Linked DNA regions of Homo sapiens: regions 2, 3 and 4 are each linked to region 1. Evidence: promoter capture Hi-C in 16 types of primary human blood cells and fetal thymus (Javierre and others, 2016). All regions are on one chromosome and are shown on one strand. Each heading gives the region's core, a stretch centred on a gene start or on the middle of the fragment in contact. The rest is flanking DNA. Distances are from core to core; before and after follow the strand shown. Region 1 holds the start of SPX (spexin hormone). Region 2 overlaps C2CD5 (C2 calcium dependent domain containing 5). Region 3 overlaps C2CD5 (C2 calcium dependent domain containing 5). Region 4 overlaps CMAS (cytidine monophosphate N-acetylneuraminic acid synthetase).

What was found. Contacts are between HindIII fragments. The CHiCAGO score rates a contact against its expected background, and 5 or more counts as called.
Region 2: a fragment that was not itself captured here is called in contact with the fragment with the promoter of SPX in region 1 in 1 of 17 cell types (total B cells); the score reaches 6.1 in total B cells.
Region 3: a fragment that was not itself captured here is called in contact with the fragment with the promoter of SPX in region 1 in 1 of 17 cell types (naive B cells); the score reaches 5.0 in naive B cells.
Region 4: a contact is called between a fragment that was not itself captured here and the fragment with the promoter of SPX in region 1, in 1 of 17 cell types (naive CD4 T cells). The highest score is 5.0, in naive CD4 T cells.

The regions. Positions count from the first base shown.
Region 1 is chr12:21,524,138-21,528,694 of GRCh38, reverse strand. It overlaps SPX (spexin hormone), which reads right to left and starts at 2,399. Exons shown (of 6, transcript NM_030572.4): 1 at 2,217-2,399; 2 at 1,729-1,809; 3 at 1,503-1,560; 4 at 906-968. The coding sequence starts at 2,222. The HindIII fragment of the contact is 15,623 bases long and covers 1-4,557 here.
Region 2 is chr12:22,490,105-22,494,661 of GRCh38, reverse strand. It overlaps C2CD5 (C2 calcium dependent domain containing 5), which reads left to right. Exons shown (of 27, transcript NM_001286176.2): 11 at 1,325-1,439; 12 at 4,444-4,539. Among named protein-coding and RNA genes, the nearest start is that of C2CD5, 52 kb to the left of the region's middle. The HindIII fragment of the contact is 1,174 bases long and covers 1,507-2,680 here.
Region 3 is chr12:22,474,697-22,479,253 of GRCh38, reverse strand. C2CD5 (C2 calcium dependent domain containing 5) reads left to right here. Exons shown (of 27, transcript NM_001286176.2): 15 at 777-941; 16 at 4,363-4,503. Among named protein-coding and RNA genes, the nearest start is that of C2CD5, 68 kb to the left of the region's middle. The HindIII fragment of the contact is 714 bases long and covers 2,401-3,114 here.
Region 4 is chr12:22,058,420-22,062,976 of GRCh38, reverse strand. It overlaps CMAS (cytidine monophosphate N-acetylneuraminic acid synthetase), which reads right to left. Exons shown (of 8, transcript NM_018686.6): 4 at 4,277-4,410; 5 at 2,051-2,145; 6 at 1,525-1,696; 7 at 543-696. Among named protein-coding and RNA genes, the nearest start is that of CMAS, 14 kb to the right of the region's middle. The HindIII fragment of the contact is 1,555 bases long and covers 1,674-3,228 here.

The DNA.
Region 1 (4,557 bases), core at 1,150-3,649:
AGTATCTGCTAAGAACTCAAAGTTATTTCAAATCTAAGTTGAAAAAAGACAAATTGTTCTGATTCAGCACAAAACATGATTTCTAATTTGGGGCAACTGAAGTTGAGAAACAAATCTTAACCTCATAAAATAAATAAGCTCAATTACACAGCATGTTTGAAGAGCCTAAACAAAAATTTAAGCACCTACTATGTGTTCAACAGTGTTTGGTATTTTTCCAAGTAAGTATACTTTTTAATTTTAGCATTTCAATCTTTACAATTTCATCAAATTGTATTGTTATTTGTTAATACAATACGATGGAAAGGTTTATCATGAAAAAGAACAGTCCCCGGTCCCATCCTTAACTGCCCGCATGTTACTCTTTTGATTTTGAACCTTTGATAGTTCTTTCTAGTCAAACAAAAGCATACATTTGAAGTTCCTAGGTAAGTTCTTATTTTAATAATAACAGCGTTTAAGAGGAGGCTGAGTAAAGTTCCTGCACAAACGCGCAGATACATTTCTAGAAGCATTTGCATAGTTCTTCCTATCTCGCCTTACCCCTCTGAGCTGCACCTCAGGTCCTAACTCCCTGGGGACCTCTGCACACCCTGGCAGCCAGAGGGCTGGCTGAACAGCCGCAAGCCAATAAGGCTTGGGGAGCCGCAGCGCCAGCCTGGGCCGCCCTTGCCACCATTGGCGCGGGGCTGGACGCGCGAGCTCCCAGCTCCGGCGCTCGGCATCCAGCTGCTGCTGCTGCCAACCCGGGCTGCCCTCGGGCGGACTGTATCTGAGGGCGCCTCAGAGCCGCGTCTTTCCGGTGAGGAGACGCTTTCTTTCGGCACCAGCGCGGAGCAAGCCCTGCCCGCCCCATCCTATTCCAAAAGCGCAGGACTAGCGCCCTTGCACCCTTGGTCACTCACCCGGCAGTGGCCGGTCGGAGAGGTCCTTTCTCCGGCTCTGGTCGGAGATGAAGCGGCGACCCTCTGCAAAAACGAGACCTGGGGCTCAGCGACAGCCTGGCCCGGGACAACCCGGGCTTAAACCTCAGCTCCTCCCGGCACAGCGCAGTCCCCGGGCGTGGGGAGGGGGCAGGTTGCTCCAGGATAGGGTCGCGCGGGGCTGCCGAGTTTCCAGCGCTCCCAGCGCAACCCCGGGCTGAGCCAGGGGCCCTGGAGCTCTGGAGGAAAGCCCCGCGCCTGACCGGACGCCGCAAGGGCGCTTTGGAGCGGAGGTCGGGTTACTGAGATATTTCCCAGGCAACCCGAGTCCCCATTTGGACCAAGAGAAGCAACCCTCCAGTTTTGGATGGAGAATTTCTAATAAGGATGGAGGATTTCCAATAATCAGGGACTCTTCCCCTCTCCCACCCCTCCCTCACCTACCGGTCTCTTTGATGGCCTCGATGATTTAAGGGAATAAACTCGACATTATTCTCTCTCCATAACTCTCCATCTATCTGTTCCTGACTCCTAGGGGTCTTCCATTATTGTAGGAAGAGCGAAATATTTGGAACTTACGTGCCCCTTTCAGGTAGAGCATAGCTTGAGGAGTCCAGTTCCTTCTCTCCAACAGTCTCTATAGCCCGGGGGAAGGGAAGAGCAGTTAATAAAACATTGCAGCTCAGTCCTCTATTACAGCAAAATAAAGGAAAAAGAAGAGAATAAAACAAGAAGGAAGAAAGAAAGAGCAGAGTGGACACACAGTGCGCATTGTTTTAAAATTTTTTATTTTGCATTTGATTACCTGCGGAGCGCAGCTGGAGTTTCCCAGGAAAACAAACACCAGGAAAAGAGCCAAGGTTGTTGCTGCCAGACTTCTGAGTCCCTATATGAAGCGATCAACCAGAAAGGGTCATTTCTGTGCCAATAGGATCTTCTGCTTCCTTCCTTGACGCCTGGACAATTATAAACCCCCTTACTTCTCGCAATATTCTGTTTTAATACTCAGTTTTCTGGAGGTGTTTCCCTTCTACCTTCTAGTTAATTCACAAAGAGTCCACTTGAAAAAACGTATTTAGAAACATATTATTTGTATTACTTCACCCAAATGAAGAATAAGTAAATACGTGAATTTTTTTCTTAGTAAAATCAAATGATTCTGTTATTCTAAAGGCGTATCGTTCAAATATCCTTTAAACTCTAAAATCCTTATTAAACATGAAATAGGTAAAATGCTATAAAACGTTTTAAAAAATAGCTAAGAAGTCTCAAGTTAATAAAGCCTTTACTTACCTTCATGTTCTGCGTCTTTTCAGAACCCTGAAATAACTATAACTTTATCTGTGAGTTTTCGACTCTTGCTCTGAAATTGGAGCTTTTAAAATCTTGGTGTTAAGGGCACCTCCCCATCTGGAGTAGAGTTTGGGAGTCCACAGGGACATCTTGTCAGTCTTCAAGCAAGATTGAGAATCTGATGACTCCTCCAGGGAGCTTCATTGCAGGAAGTAGAGGAATGATTGATGGGCAGAAATTATTTGTTTAAATACTGATTGCATCACCCAGGAGGCCTTCAGAATGTGTCAGCATCATTGGCCTTGCTTTTCCTACTAGCTGCCCAAAGTAACATGTTATTATTATTATTAATGAAAACAATCAATAGTCCAAGGCAGAATCAAAAGTAAAAGAATAAATCAGAAAACTTTTCTTGGGTAACTAGCCATCAGTCTATCACTGATGGCTAAAGATGTATGAAAAGGTTTGGGAATCTCAATGGAATTTGACATCAGTCATTCACTTAATTATCAATTCATTCTGTTGTTTAGCAAATATTTATTGAGTGCCTATGAGACACACAATCCTTGTATTTCAAGGGACACAGCCATGCACTGAAAAGACATGGTCTCTGCTTTGATCTAAGTTACCTACTAGTTAAGGTACACAGTAAACTGATGAATAGATAAATAAGACACAGTAGTTACCCCTTAATCGTAGGTGTGTGTGGGGTGGAGGAGCATGTTTCAAGACCCACAGTGGATGCCTGAAACCACTGATACGTATATGCCTTATTATACTATTTTTTTTTATCTGTTCACCAAGATGGTTACTAACTGATTAATGGGAGAGTGGTGTTTACATATGGACATGCTGGACAAAAAGATGGTTCATGTCTTGGGTGGGCTGGAGCTGGACAGTGAGAGATTTCAACACCCTACTCAGATTTAAAGCTCACAATTTAAACTTATTAATTCTGGAATTTCCCATTTAATATTTTCAGACTGTAGTTGACCATGGGTAACTGAAACCATGGAAAGTGAAACCGTGGATAAGCAGGGACTACTGTAACTACAGAATGTTTTAAATTGTTAAGTAAAAGTAAGCAAGGTGATGTGATAGGATAAGTGGTGGGCTACTTTAGGGAAGGTTAAAAACAGAGGGTAGTCTTGAAGGATAAGGTGAAGTAATGGGAGAAGCTGGGCAGGAATTAGTATTCCAGGCATTCTCAATAGAAGAAAGAAAAGCAAAATCTGTGGACAGCAAAGAGCATGACTTGCTTGGGGACTAGGAAAGAGGCCAATGGAGGCAGCGTTGTGTGGGTGAACGGGGGAGGTGCTTTGAAATGAGATTGGAGAAGAAGAAATGGGCCAGTTGATGTGGAAATACGATTATAAGCAATAGATGATGATGGCTTACACTGGGATGGTACACACAGGGAAAGAAGAGCTGTAAATGAATTTGGAATACATGTTGTGGAGGTAGAAAATATAGAACTTGTATATAAAAGGGATATGAAAGTGTGAGAAAAATAAATCAAGGATGATTCTTAGGTTTATGGATAAAACTGTGGGTAAATTATGAAGTAATTTACTGAAATTAGAGAAACTTCTTAAGAAGCAAGTTATGAGAGGGAAATTAACACTTGCCATATAGGCATATTAAAATTAAAATGTATATTAAAAATATCCAAGTACAAGTACAAAATAGAAGGTTAGAAATGCAAAACTTGATAGAGGTCAGCCAAGAGGTCACCAGCCTACAGATTTTCTTTTTGGTGGGGGGCAGAAATGATTAGCTTTAAGAATTTTAAGAATTCTAAGAATTTTACAACCAGTAAAGGGATGAGATTAAACACAACACTTAGGGAGTGAATAGGGCTAAAGAAGAGTGGCAGGGACAGAGCTATGAAAACAAACGCATAGAGAATGAGCAGAGGAAGAGCCAGAAAAGGAGGTTGAGGTAGAGTCAGAAAGAAAGGAGAAATTCCAGGGGACCCTGATATCATGGAAGCCAAGTGAAGATCCAGTAGTATTGGGAGGTCAAGCAACATTAGCTCCAAGAAACATCCACTGGATTTGGAATATGATGGTTTTGAGGATAGAAGCAAGATTGGAGTTGGTTGAATAGTGAATATGATATGATAAATTAAAGCCAAGAATAAACAATCTCTTTTACAGATGTCACAAAAGAAGGGAAAGGAAAAAATGAGAATTTTTTTTACTGTTATTATTATTGTTATTGTTATTTTAAAGACAGGGTCTCACTATGTTGTTCAGGCTGGGCTGAAACTCCTGTCCTCAACTGGTCCTCCCATGTCAGCCTCCCAAACCTCTGGGATTATAGGCATGCTTGGCCTGTG
Region 2 (4,557 bases), core at 844-3,343, 970 kb before region 1:
TTCTTCTGAAAGAAAGTTTTAAGGTAGCTTTGTCTTGGAACCAAAACTTTAATTCAAGAACTGGCTGGCATCATTTGTAGTTCTGGCTTTTATCTCCTTATTTCTCCCTTTTGCTGATCCTCCTCCCTGTGGAGGAGACAAAAATTTCATCATAGGAATGTGAGCTATAACACGCCTCTTAACCTTTCTTTACTTTGCTGTCTTCACTATTTTACTAGTGAGTATAATTCTACTTATTCTACTAATTTTGAAAAACATATTTTGAAAATTGGATATATACTGCAATTCAAAAATAGAAACTTTGGATTTTTTGGTTTTTAGATTTAATAGTGGCTTTTATATGGAAAAATTACAATGAGAGCTTAGCATTCTATCTAGAGTTGATTTTTTTTTCTATCTCAAGTTATTCCCAAATGAGAATTGGCCACAAAAAGAAATAAATTATGATATGCTAATTATAGACTTTCTGTTTTTAACACATTGTACATAAAATGTTACTATAATTTGCAGCTGCTGTCACCAGTAGTTTGCAGCTAAATGCAAGTGATTAGGAAATATGTATGACAGATGCTTCATTTATAGTGCTCCATTACAAGCAATATTGGACTTCTCTGGTAATAAAATAGAATTCTGTGACTCTAAATCATTTTTTAAAATTACAGACCAATACATGGAGTGTTATATCTGAAATTTTTCCTTATATACATTACCAAATTATTTGTGTTAATATTTTAAGTGTGCTTGCTTTCTTTCTTTTTTTTTTTAAATTAGTCTCTAATTTCTTGTATTTTGCCTAAAGACCCACATCTCTGTAGAAGGATGGCTTACAGATGGCTTTCTCTCTTTTAACATTGACAAATCTTTGCCTTGGAAAGAACCCACAATATAGTGAGTTATAAAAATAGGTACCAAGAAATGAAATCAGAATTAAAGTTAAATTTATGGATATAACACATAAGGTGTTCACTCAGTGAGGTGAGATGTAGAATATCCTCTTAGTCTAATTCTAAAATTCTAATCATAGCTAAGATTAGAATTTGGAAACTCTGGGTCTACATTTAAAATTATATCTAATCATATATTCCTATAGATATCTGTTAAAGTAATAAAGCAAATACAGATAGGTGGTTTGTTTTCCAGCAATTGAGTTTAAAAGGTTAAATCTTATGCCTTTTGAGAAGTAGCATTTTAAAGATGGGAAGTTTAAAAATCCATTATAGAATAAAACTTCTTTACTTCCCATAGTATGTTTATTTTAAACATTTCATGTTCATATATATAATGTGCTATTGAGTAATAAACTGATTTAAAATTTATTTTTCAGATGAACCAGAAACTCGAGATGCATGGTGGGCAGAAATCAGACAAGAAATAAAATCACATGCTAAAGCATTAGGCTGTCATGCTGTAGTGGGCTACAGTGAATCAACTAGCATCTGGTAAATGATAATAACAACTTGATTTTCCAGACACTAATTTAGACTGCCATCTGAAAGGGGAAAAGCTTCATGCAAATAAAAGAAAAGAGAATAGCGAAGTGTTCAGGAGCATGGGCCTTGGAGTACATTAGATTAAGGTTTATATGCCGTCTTTGCCAGTTAGTGACTGTGTAACTTTGAGAAAGTTATTTAACTCTTCTGAGCCTCAATTTGTACATTAAAATGGAGATAATACCACAGATCAATTAATCATTTACATCAGTGATTAAATGAGAATATAATACTGGCACACAGCAAATATTAACTCTAGGCTTCCTTTAGTATGTAACTGTATCAACTTCTTCCACTGGAACCTTTGGAACCCTTGATCTACTGTAAACGAATTGCAATGTGTCTTTAAAGTTTGTCCATAAACTCATTCTGCCTCCTTTTACCTACTGTAATGTAACGTTTCTTGCTAACAAATCATTCTTCCTAATACTGACAAATTAGGAAGGGGCTTTCATACACTTGGTTCTCAATTCCTTTTTCTCCTTCCCTTCATTTGAACAATCTCCTCCTTTAAAGTACATGCCACGCTACTGTTCCATTATCTACTTCCAAAGCATTCGTCTGCCTTTCTTAGTTACTTCGCTGCTCTCTCCTCCAGTTACATATGATTATGTTCATCCTAGCAGCTGGCATTATAGTTTCTTATTCTCAAGTCGTCTGACCCCACTTAACTTTCAACCATATTTTGGACCTCAGTATCACTTGAAACTGTTCCGCCTTAAAATTTTGAAACTATAAAATTTTACTCTCAGATCACAACTTAACGTTTTTCTACCAATATCATTTGCTCTTTTATATCTAGTTTGTTTTGACCCTTACCTTAACCAGTTGTTTTCTCAGCTCCTTACTTAGTTTCTGGCTTTTTTTGTTCTTTTGCCATCCTTGAACCCTACTTTCAGCCCTTCAGAAGTTTACAGTTGATATCATCTAGAAACTGTTTAACCTTCTGTTATCTTATTTTTCTACCATCTATTCTTAGGTAATTCTTACTGTTAGATCCTCTGCTCTTGTGGTGATCCTTATTGTTAGGGAAAAAGAATTAAACTGTAGTAAATGTGGTCATTACAGAGCCATATTATTTAATCTTCTGTGGGCTTTTCTTTTCCTTTGCAGATCATGTGTTATACTCCTAGACTGTTTATTCCCATAGTAGCGGTTCTACTCTTGTTAACTACTAACTTTGTCAAGCTTATCTTGCCTTACTCCCTAGTTGTCTTGCCACATTGATGGTTTTAATGTCATAAACTTTGAGGCCTTAGAAAAATGTTTTTTGTTGTTGTCGTTTTTTTTTTTGTTTTTTGAGATAGAGTTTCACTCTTTCACTCAGGCTGGAGTGCAATGGTGTGATTTTGGCTCACTGCAACCTCCACCTCCCGGGTTCAAGTGATTCTCCCACCTTAGCCTCCTTAGTAGCTGGGATTACAGGTGCCTGCCTTCCTGTCTGGCTAATTTTCATATTTTTAGTAGAGATGGGGTTTCGCCATGTTGGTCAGGCTGATCTCGAACTCCTGACCTCGTGATCTGTCCACCTCGGCCTCCCAAAGTGCTGGGATTACAGGCGTAAGCCACCACACCCGGCCAGAGATATGGTTTTAGAAGGCATAGTTCTTGGTATCACATTTACATTCTACTGGATAATTATGATGTAAAATAAATTTTAAGATTGAGATATAGGATGCTTTGGGATCCTAGAGGGCTGAAAGCTCAAAGTAGAATTGGAAGAAAATGTCAATGAAGTAACTGATGCTTGAGTTGGATTTTGGGGGATGAATATGAATTATATAAATAAAAAGAAGAGGCATAAGGAGAGGTTTCAAAGCTTACAAGATGCATTCAACACTTAAAAGAGTAGCAAAAAAAAGAAGGCCACAGGATGTAGACTCAGGATGGCTGATGATAGGTCACAGATGGAGGAGTCTGCAAATGAGTTCAGTTAATTTACCTAGAAGTTTGAGTTCATCTGACAGATGTCATCTGACAGAGGTCCTTTCTAGACCTCAAAAACATCTGTGTATTTAAATTTTAACTAATCTTTTCTGTTCCAGCCCATGCTACTTTCTGTTACTGGATTAAACTCTCTGAAATGCACTTCTGCTCTTATAACTTCTTGATTCGAAGACATCAGTGGTTTCATGTTATTCCTTCTGACATCCTTAATTCCTACCTACACTTTAAGCCTGGTCTTCCTTTATTTTATTTACAGTTCAAGTGACTGTTCCTCCCTTGTTCTCTTAGGCTTCTGTTTTATTTTATTTCTGGGTTTTATTTATACCTGGTTTTCAGCAGTTCATCCCTAGGTTGCTACTTTTCTCATTTGTTTAGGTGATCTCATTCAATAATTATGTTGATTGTTTAATTTTTTAGCTTTCAAATTGGGTGACATATAATAATTTAAAAATTATTTTGAATATCAGTTTTCTGTTATATGATGATGTAGTTTAAGCTTCATTTAGTATATTTTGTATATTGTTTCAGAAACCTTTATAATGATTTAAATTTAGATTAAGCTATATAAATCACCTATATAGAGATATTTACATAGTTGTGCTTTTAGAATAATTTTAATAAAACTTCATATACATTTAAAGAGTATTTTAATATAGTTTCATTGATTAATGCTAGATTCAGCAATACAATTTATTACTGCTTATATTTTGAAACATTTCATTCTTTCAGCCTTGCCATATTTTAAATGAAGTTATTGTCTTTAATATTAATACTTTTATCTTTTTTCAGTTTTTAATTTATGAAGAATTCTTTCCCTCCATTCAAATAAAGTTACTTCTGTTTTCTAGGCTAGGTTTAGGAGGTAAACCTCGTAAATATTATTTAATATTGAGTAGAGTCTAACTTGAACTTAAATTGTCACTGTTATAATTATTTTGATATTTAGCATTTCCCAAAGTTATACGGTCTGAAAAATGTTAACTTGTTTGTGTTTTTTCCTTTATAGTGAAGAGGTCTGCATTTTATCTGCATCTGGCACAGCGGCTGTACTGAATCCTAGATTTCTGCAGGATGGCACCGTGGAAGGCTGTTTGGAACAGAGGTTGTCATGGCAGCCTGG
Region 3 (4,557 bases), core at 1,508-4,007, 950 kb before region 1:
AAAAATACAAAAATTAGCTGAGTGTGGTGGTGGGCACCTGTAATCCTAGCTACTCAGGAGGCTGAGGCAGAAGAATCGCTTGAACCCAGGAGTTGGAGGTTGCAGTGAGCCGAGATCACGCCACTACACTCCAGCCTGGGTGAAAGCGTGGGACTTCGTCTCAAAAAAAAAAAAATTGTGAGGTAGAAACATAAAAAATATAATTGGGTATGCAGTGAAAAGTAAATCCGCATTTCGTAACTGTCTCCCACCTACCCAGGGTCCTCCCCAAAAGAAACCAACGCTTATTACCAGTTGTTTTTGTGTGCCTTTCCAGAGATGTCCTATGTATACCCTGATGCTGATTATATTCTTCCTAATGAGCAAAGATCACATTCTTGTTTTTTTTTCCCTTTTTTTCTTTTTTTTGAGACAGAGTCTTGCTCTGTTGCCCAGGCTGGAGTGCAGAGGCATGATCCTGACTCACTGCAACCTCTGCCTCCCGGGTTCAAGTGATTGTCCTGCCTCACCCTCCTGAGTAGCAGGGATTATGGGCACACACCACTACACCTGGCTAATTTTTGTATTTTTAGGAGAGACGGGGTTTCACCTTGTTGGCCAGGCTGGTCTCAAACTCCTGACCTCAAGTGATCTGCCCGCCTTGGCCTCCCAAAGTACTGGGATTACAGGTGTGAGCCACTGCACCCAGCTGTTGACCACATTCTTAAATATGAAAACTTAAGGACTGTTATTCTGTAGATATTTTTTCTGATTATTTCCCCATTATTTTTTACAAGTCTGCCACAGGTGTGTATTTAGCAGCTTTACCAACTCCTGGTGGTATTCAGATTGCTGGGAAGACTCCTAATGATGGCTCATATGAACAACACATCTCTCATATGCAGAAGAAGATAAATGACACAATTGCTAAAAACAAAGAGTTATATGAAATCAATCCTCCAGTAAGTAAAACAAACCTACATTGTGAATGTATCAGTTATTGTTTATTAGTATATTTTTAGGTTATCTTATTGAGGACACAAGATTTTTTTTTCACTGTTTAGCTCTCCTTATTACTCATTCTTTCACCTCCCTTTATGTCTTTGCTCAACTGTCTCCTTTTCGGGTAAGCCTACTCTAACGATCCTATTTAAAAATTGTGACTTCATTTTTGCCACTTCCTATGACTTTTCCCTCTTTTATTGTTTTCTATAGCTCTTATCTTTGTGAGTGTGTGTGTGTGTGAGTGTGTGTGTGTGTGTGAGTGTGTGTGTTTTGTTGGTCTTTTGCCTGTTAGTACTGGTAGAATGAAGCTTCATGAGGGCTTTGTTTCTATTGCCTAGAAAAGTTCCTATTGGTGGTAGTCTCTTAGTATTTGTTGAATGATGAAATAAATGGTTTAAAATGTTCTTTGTTAGTAAAAAGAGATTCTTATTGGTGGTAAAAATGTGAAAGAATATAGTTTTTCAGTTACAGTTTCTTTTTTTACAAATTTGCTCCCAGTCATTTCCTTTAATCAGTCTTTTTACCAACTTTGCAATAAGTATCACAATGCTGCCTCCTCTGTGGATGACTGATGGCAAGAGTCTGAATTGAAAGAAAAATGGGTTGGAATTAGAATGAAACTATTTGTTTTTATGAGTCTCTGATAATGAAAGACTTTCACAAAAGGAAAGTATAACATTCACACGTATACATATGTAACAAACCTGCACATTGTGCACATGTACCCTAAAACTTAAAGTATAATTAAAAAAATAAAAAAAGAAAGTATAACATTATTGCTTTTATTATTTTAAACGTCTTATCTAATTTTGGCTGGTCTTCTGGAACAGTGTGTCTGGATTGTTGCGTCACATGTATAGCTTTCATCATATTATTCTAGCATAGTTGTTAATTTGGGAGGAATTTTAAGGTTATGACCTACAGCTGCACTATTCATTATTCACTGTGGTAGCCGCTGGCCACATGTGACTTTTGAGGACTTGTGACTAGTCTGAATTGAAATGTGTAGTAAGTATAAAATATACACTGGATTTTAAAGATTTACTGTGAAAAAGTAGTGTAAAATATGAATATTTTTGTATTGATTTTGTGTCAAAAATTTAATATTTTGGATATACTGAATGAAATAAAATGTTTTATTAAAATGGATTTTATCTGTTTCTTTTTACTTTATTATGTATGTGGCTTGCTTTATATTTCTATTGAACAATACTGACTTAGGGCTTCTTTAAAATGAATGCAAATGTTGATGTGTTAACATATTCATATTTGAAAAATAGACTTTGTAAAAGTTCTCTGTGCACCACTCTACTGACTGCTTATTTTTATAGTACATTATTTTTATTTGGTAGTTATATTTTGATATTTGAACATCTGTTTATAGTATGCCACTTGGGAAAAATGATTTGTAAAGCTTTGTGTTAGGGTTTCATATATTCTTCATTTATTATTTCTAATGATATGAGCTGAACTTTTTTACTTACTTAATAGTGTTTCTCACCTCTGTAAATCCATCCTGACCTCTAACAGGAAGAATGGACTCTTCCTCCATTGTGTACTTGTTGTACCTGTATGTACTTGTATAGAAACTGTTACATATTATTGTACTTAGTTTTTATATATCTGTCTTCCTTTACTATAATGTAAGCCCTTTGGAGACAGGGATGTGTTTAAATAAGACTATGAATTAAGTTACTTCATCCATTCAGTACTTATTGAGCTGCTACTATGTGTCATACAGTTTACATTTGGAAGGAGGGAGTAAATCTATTATGATTTTAAAAATTTTAACATATATGAATTTCATGTGTTGAGGATGACTGTATTTTCACAACAGTACTCATCAGTTTATGCATCTTCTAATATGTCTTTCCTTATTGTAGATACTGACTACATTATAGTCTTTTAGCATAATCTCTCAGCATTTTTTTTGACAGAGTCAGTGTACAAGGTTGATTACCAGGCCACTATACACATTACAGTGTTGTGTTATGTCCACCCTGAATATGTAGATCAGAGTGTTCCTTCTCTTAGGATGATAGCCCTCACTGAAATAAATGCTGCTGTTTAAATTTTTTGTCAATACATTAAAAAATGTTTCTAATACAAAGGTGTAGTACCACTTAAGCTTTATGGAGATAATCAAAGGTATCAAAATAAGATGCACATCTCTCAGAATAACAGTACTAGTGATGAAATTTCAGTATGAATCTAGAACATATTAAATACCAGACAGTTATATTTGTTAAGTCTGTGGCATTGTGAACAAAGGCATAACAGAATTTAAAACTATTGTAAAATTATAAAAAGTAGTGTGGTATCTAGTGGGAATAACGTTGCACTGTGTGTCAAAAGACTGACCTAGACTGGCTCTACACTTGCTAGTTTTCCAAATTTAGGCAGACTACTAATTTACTTCTGAATTACAGCTCTTTTCCATTTTGTAGTTATTATAATGTTAACTTTATAGAGGGCAGATTAATTTGGAGTACAAATAAGATAAATTGATGTGAAAGTGCTCCATAGATCATTACATTATGAAATTGTGCAGTGGTAGTCTTTTATCTAAGGTGCATACTACCAATGAACATTTAAAACTATATATTTTTGAAAAATTTTATGTACAATTTCCTTGTTTATTAAAAAGACAATTCTGTTGCATCAGCAATAGGCTATGGCTTTTGCTTTTGCGTTCACGTATTCATATTCTTCCAGCATTCCTTGTGGCCGACAGACACTTAGAACCCCTAGTGATCTTTGGCTATGTAACAGCAAAAAGCTCACTAAGCCATACAGTATTGCACCATACACTGACCTTAAAAAGATCATTATTGTAAGTACCAATGTTTATTTAGCTTAATAAATTGAATAGCAAATATGTGCATAGTATAAGTATATATGTATTCATACTCATACATTGATCATATTTCACATTTTGCTATATGGAGCTTTGAAAGTGGATAAGAAAATATATAAAAGATTAGAATTCTTTCTAGGAACATAAGTCTTTAAATTTTTAAGGCCTATTAGGACTTTTATAATGCTGAATAGAAAATATGCACACACAGCAGTACTGGATTTCAGAGCTGTAAGGACTGCCAATTCCATACACATTGTAGTGTCCTGTGTGTACACTAGATGTCAGTTTTATCTTGTTATGTCTGTGACAGTTATATATATTTTTCTGATTCGTGTATCATTAAGGCTGCCATATCTGCTATAAAAGTTTAGTTTTAAAGGTTATACTTAAGTACGGACTTCACTGAGTATATTTTACAGGCTTTTTCTCCACAGGTAGGTGTCTACTAATATAAAGATGTAAAATTTAAACTGGAAAAGACAATCTCATATGATATAAAACAATTATATTTCTTTTAGGAGATATCTGAAGAGATTATAGGATCACCCATCCCAGAACCTAGGCAACGCTCAAGACTTCTAAGATCTCAATCAGAAAGCTCGGATGAAGTTACAGAATTAGACCTTTCACATGGGAAAAAAGATGCTTTTGTTTTGGAGGTAATGTGGCATTGGACTAATTTCTTAAAGGTTTTGGAAGCTAAGATACACATT
Region 4 (4,557 bases), core at 1,202-3,701, 530 kb before region 1:
AGTAATCCTTTTTAGGGATATTCTATTTTTCACAGGACATTTAAGTGGGTTCTTTTAACTTCACTATTGGCCCATTTGTCTCATTTCTTTCCTGGAATTGGAATTTGGAGGAAAAAGTATGTACATTCAATTAGCAGCAAAAACTATTCAGAGTGTAATTCATATGTACTAGAAATTCTGCTAAGTGCTTTACTCATATTATTTTATTAATCCCTTCCAGAGCCCTACGGTAATAGGTACTCTCGATATCTCCAGTTTACAGATGAGGAAACAACATTCATCTTATCACAACTGGCTAATCAGTGGTACAGTCTGACTTCACAGCTTGTGCTAATAATCATTCTACATTTGATACCTATTATCAAACTAACCTCCAGAAAGACTGTCCCAGTTTAACAGTTTGATCAGCAGTGTTTGTTAAAAGAGTTCCTATTTCCCTACAATCATACCCATTTGGAGGATGTGCTTTGTCATTTCTTTAAAAATAAGTAAATAATTAATTCCTGGTCCATTTTACTATGGGTGAATAAAAAGATACCAACCAAGATATGCCACTTCTTTCCAGCACAGGCCCATTTCTTTTCTCCATTCATCTACAACTGCTAGCTTGTCTGATACACTGACTTCCATTTTGCAATCCAGTTTTAAAGAAGACAGCGTCTGCTTTGAACAGGCCCTTTCTGAGATTAGCCTCACCTTAAAAAAAAAAAAAAAAAGGATTGGAGGAAGAAGGGAAAAATTAAAAAGTGAAGAAAACAGAAATCTTTCATAATAATTGACCTTGTAGACAGTCCAAATCACAAACGAGTCATCTTTTGACTTTCTGAAGGTCCAAGTAAGAAAACTGACTGTCGAATTAAAATCATGATGCTTTAAAACAAAGCTCATTTTATTTCTCATAGCCCAATAAAGGTGAGACACAGTATTTTATTTTCTACAATAGAAAGGATTCTATCTACAGGTAAAAATTACAACATATATTGTCTGATACTACTCTAAGATTCTCCTATAATTCAATTTATCCAGAGGAAAGTCTATAACCTCTCTCTTGTGCTGCTTAGCAATACATATTTAGGATTTCTGGTAAATTATAATTATCTTAGCTAGCTTTCATTTAAAAAAATACACTTAAACGTTAAGTTATTTTGAATCAAAAATGTCATTCATAAGAATAAGCTAGATTTTAAAAATCCACAGGATATCGTCCTTTTCTAAAATGGTACACCTATTATCTAGGGAATCTTTCTTGCTGCAAGATCCTTTGGGAAACATTAGATAGCTCCCATTTAAAAGTAGTTATGTTTATATTTACTGAATAAACAAGAAATATTATTTGCTGATTAACAAATTCCTAATTCTACTCATCTAAAACTAAATAGTATAATAATTTTCTAGGCGTATGAAGGCCAAATTTCAGATATTTTAAGAGTTAATACTAAAAATTTAAATCTCTTAATTCCTTGCATGTTCTTTGACCCTGAATCAAAATATTATAAAATACTGCTATATTCAGGGAGCACATACCTCAATACCACTTTTCTTTAATAAACTTATCCCAATAGCATCTTTTACATCATAAGATATTATTTCTTTTTGGTCTCCTGATACATAAATGTGGCCATTGGTGAGACATCCATCAATATTGCAAACCAAAAGTTTTATTTCCTTAAGCTTCTCTTTGCCAAAATAGCCATATCTAAAAGAAACCAAAATAGACCTTTGAGTACAAGTGCAGTACTAATCACTCCCTCTCATCTGGCTAAACCAATACATGAAATGTCACCCTCCATTCAATTATTCAAACATTACTCTCCAAATTTACTTCACATATATATTTTAACATATAGTACAGTAAGTAAAAGTAGTGTGGTCTAGCCAGATAATGTTTCTCACTTTATTGAAGCCATGTAAACACATATTTTACATGTCTTCCTCACATGAACAAAGTAATTACAAAGATCCTAAGATGTCTGAAGTATCAGAAATCAGTATCTAGAAATATAATTATTAAGATTTAGTACAAAGGTTATAAAGGTTTATTTGTTTTTACCTTAATACTCTTTGCTCTGCAATAGGCCAATCAATATCCACATCTATATCCACACTATGTTCAGCTCGCATTTCGTAGTATGCCATTTTTCCACCCTAAAGGTAGTATAAATGTCATGAATACTGTTTTTAATATTCATTCACATATATCAAAACTTTATTATAATACAGAACAATGAATTCATTTCTACAGTACTGAGAAAAATGAATAACCCAGTAAAAATCAGTCACATAAAAATGATTTTTAAATTTATTTTTACTTTTTTATTTTTTCGAGTCAGGGTTTCACTCTGCCTCCCAGGCTGGAGTGCAATGGTGCAATCATAGCTCATTATAACCTTGAAATCTTAGGCTCAAGCAATCCTCCCACCTCAGCCTCCTAAGGATCTGGTACTACAGGTATACAGCACCATGTCCGGCTAAATTTTTAAAAAGTTTTTTGTAGATATAAGATCTTGCTATGTTGCCAAGGCTGGTCTTGGAAACCTGGCCTCAAGCTATCCTCTTGAGGCCTCAAGCTGGCCTCTCAAAGTGCTGGGATGACATGCTTCAGCCACCACGCCCAGCTTTTTTTTTTTTTTTTTTTTTTTTTTTAAGGAGAAAGCTCACACAAAAGAAATAACCTTAACATTTTTCAAATTCTATCTAAACAGTTCAAGTTCCCTATTTAAGAAAATTTCTATTTTAATATTGAAAAAAGCAGAAATATTACATCCTCCAGGTTTCTGACCACAAGGGATTTTGTGGAAATCCCTTAATCATATCCTCCTTTTTTTCAAGAAGTCTCTCCTGTCATCATCCAAAAGCAGTATTAAGGTTTTTGGAACTTCTGTTCTAATTTGCAACTAACAGGCAACACAGGGGAGGAAAAATAACTGTAGCATCTGTTGTACAGAGTTTTCTTAGATCTCTGAGCTACTGATGAAAATGACTAATAGTCATCCAAGTCACATGCAGGCAAAGGCAAGGGCAGTCTCTTGATTCTAGGCAAGGGTCAGCAAGAGAAAGGGTCTTTCTTCTGATAGTAATTATTTGAATGACAAGATCAATTACTGGACAATTTCAATTTCATTTTTTTTTTCAGAATTGTCAGTCTCTTCATAAACCTTGTTTTAATGAGAAACATTTTTCTCCACACTTTAGGAATGGGTTAATCATGGTCCTCCTTAGAAAAAAGCTTAAAAATGGTAGTATCTATGTGTGTCAAATCCAATTTTTCTGAACACTTAAATTTAACTAAACAGCTAGTCTATAGTTTGCCTACACATTGACCAGAAGATTTGTAAAAATGTTTTTCTCTCTTTTGCTCAGAATAATAGTCCCATTAGAATTTTTATTACACAATGGAGAGGTTTCTCTCTCTCTCTTTAAAACCGCTATTTCTTGAGTAACATAAGAACCTGAATCCAAATCCTGACAGTACCATTTATTAGCTGTTTTTGCCTTGAGTCAATTACTTCATATTTCAGTGAGGCAGTTTTCCTCCTCTGTAAAACTGGGTAGAAATGTCCACTTCATTCATTCGCTATGCAGATTACATAAGATAACATATGCAAAGTGTTTCACCTACTCCGAAGTACACAGTAAATAATAAATAATAATGATAACTAAAATTAACAAGTTAAGAAATATATGATGCAACCATGTTGCAGGCTCTAAAATGAGAGAGACATTAAATCTGTTATTTGAAAATGAGAGTCAGGACAGATAAAATGATACATATTCAAGCTTACATAGTAAGAGGCAGTTGACTTAAAGTATAATAAAAAAAAAAAAAAATATATATATATATATATATAAAAAGATTCCGGGTTTCCTGACACCCAGGTTGTAACTCTTTTCACCTCTATGAAATTATTTGTCTTTTTAAAGCAATAGAAGTTATTCAACCCTACAGCCACAATATAACTATAACACAAACATGGATTACGTAGTTTTGAGTGGAATAATATGAGTACCAGGACATGTGTAGACACCCAGTACTTGATTCATTTTTTTATCGTTGTAGCAGAATTCCTTGCATATTTACTGAATGGATTCCAAAGATCACTTTGGGGTAAACCTGCAGGATAAATGCCTCAGATAGCAAATGTTGTTGGCTATTACCTTTCCTCTATAGGTTGATACTTTTCTTTATCATAAAGAAATTGTACCATACTTCTTCCCTAGAACTCAAAGTATGCCTACAAAAGCGCTTAAAAGGGTTATGCAAAATGAAGGTACAAACCTGCAAGTAACCCATCTCTATCAAATGTCTTTTAGCAAAATAAAATGAGCCATTTTCATATAATTCTCCATCCCAGTCTTGTCGACGAGGCCGTTTAGCTGGATTTAAATTCAGAGGTTCGGTCACTTCACGAACTAAAAGCAAAAAGTTAGAGTAAGTCCACGTTGCCCTGAATATAGAAAGTGTTAATTTAGTAACTAAAAAAGTTAATAAAAATGAACTCAGAATGCAGAGCATTTCTTTATCTAGATAAAGAACTTTTCTTTTTTTTTTTTTGAGAC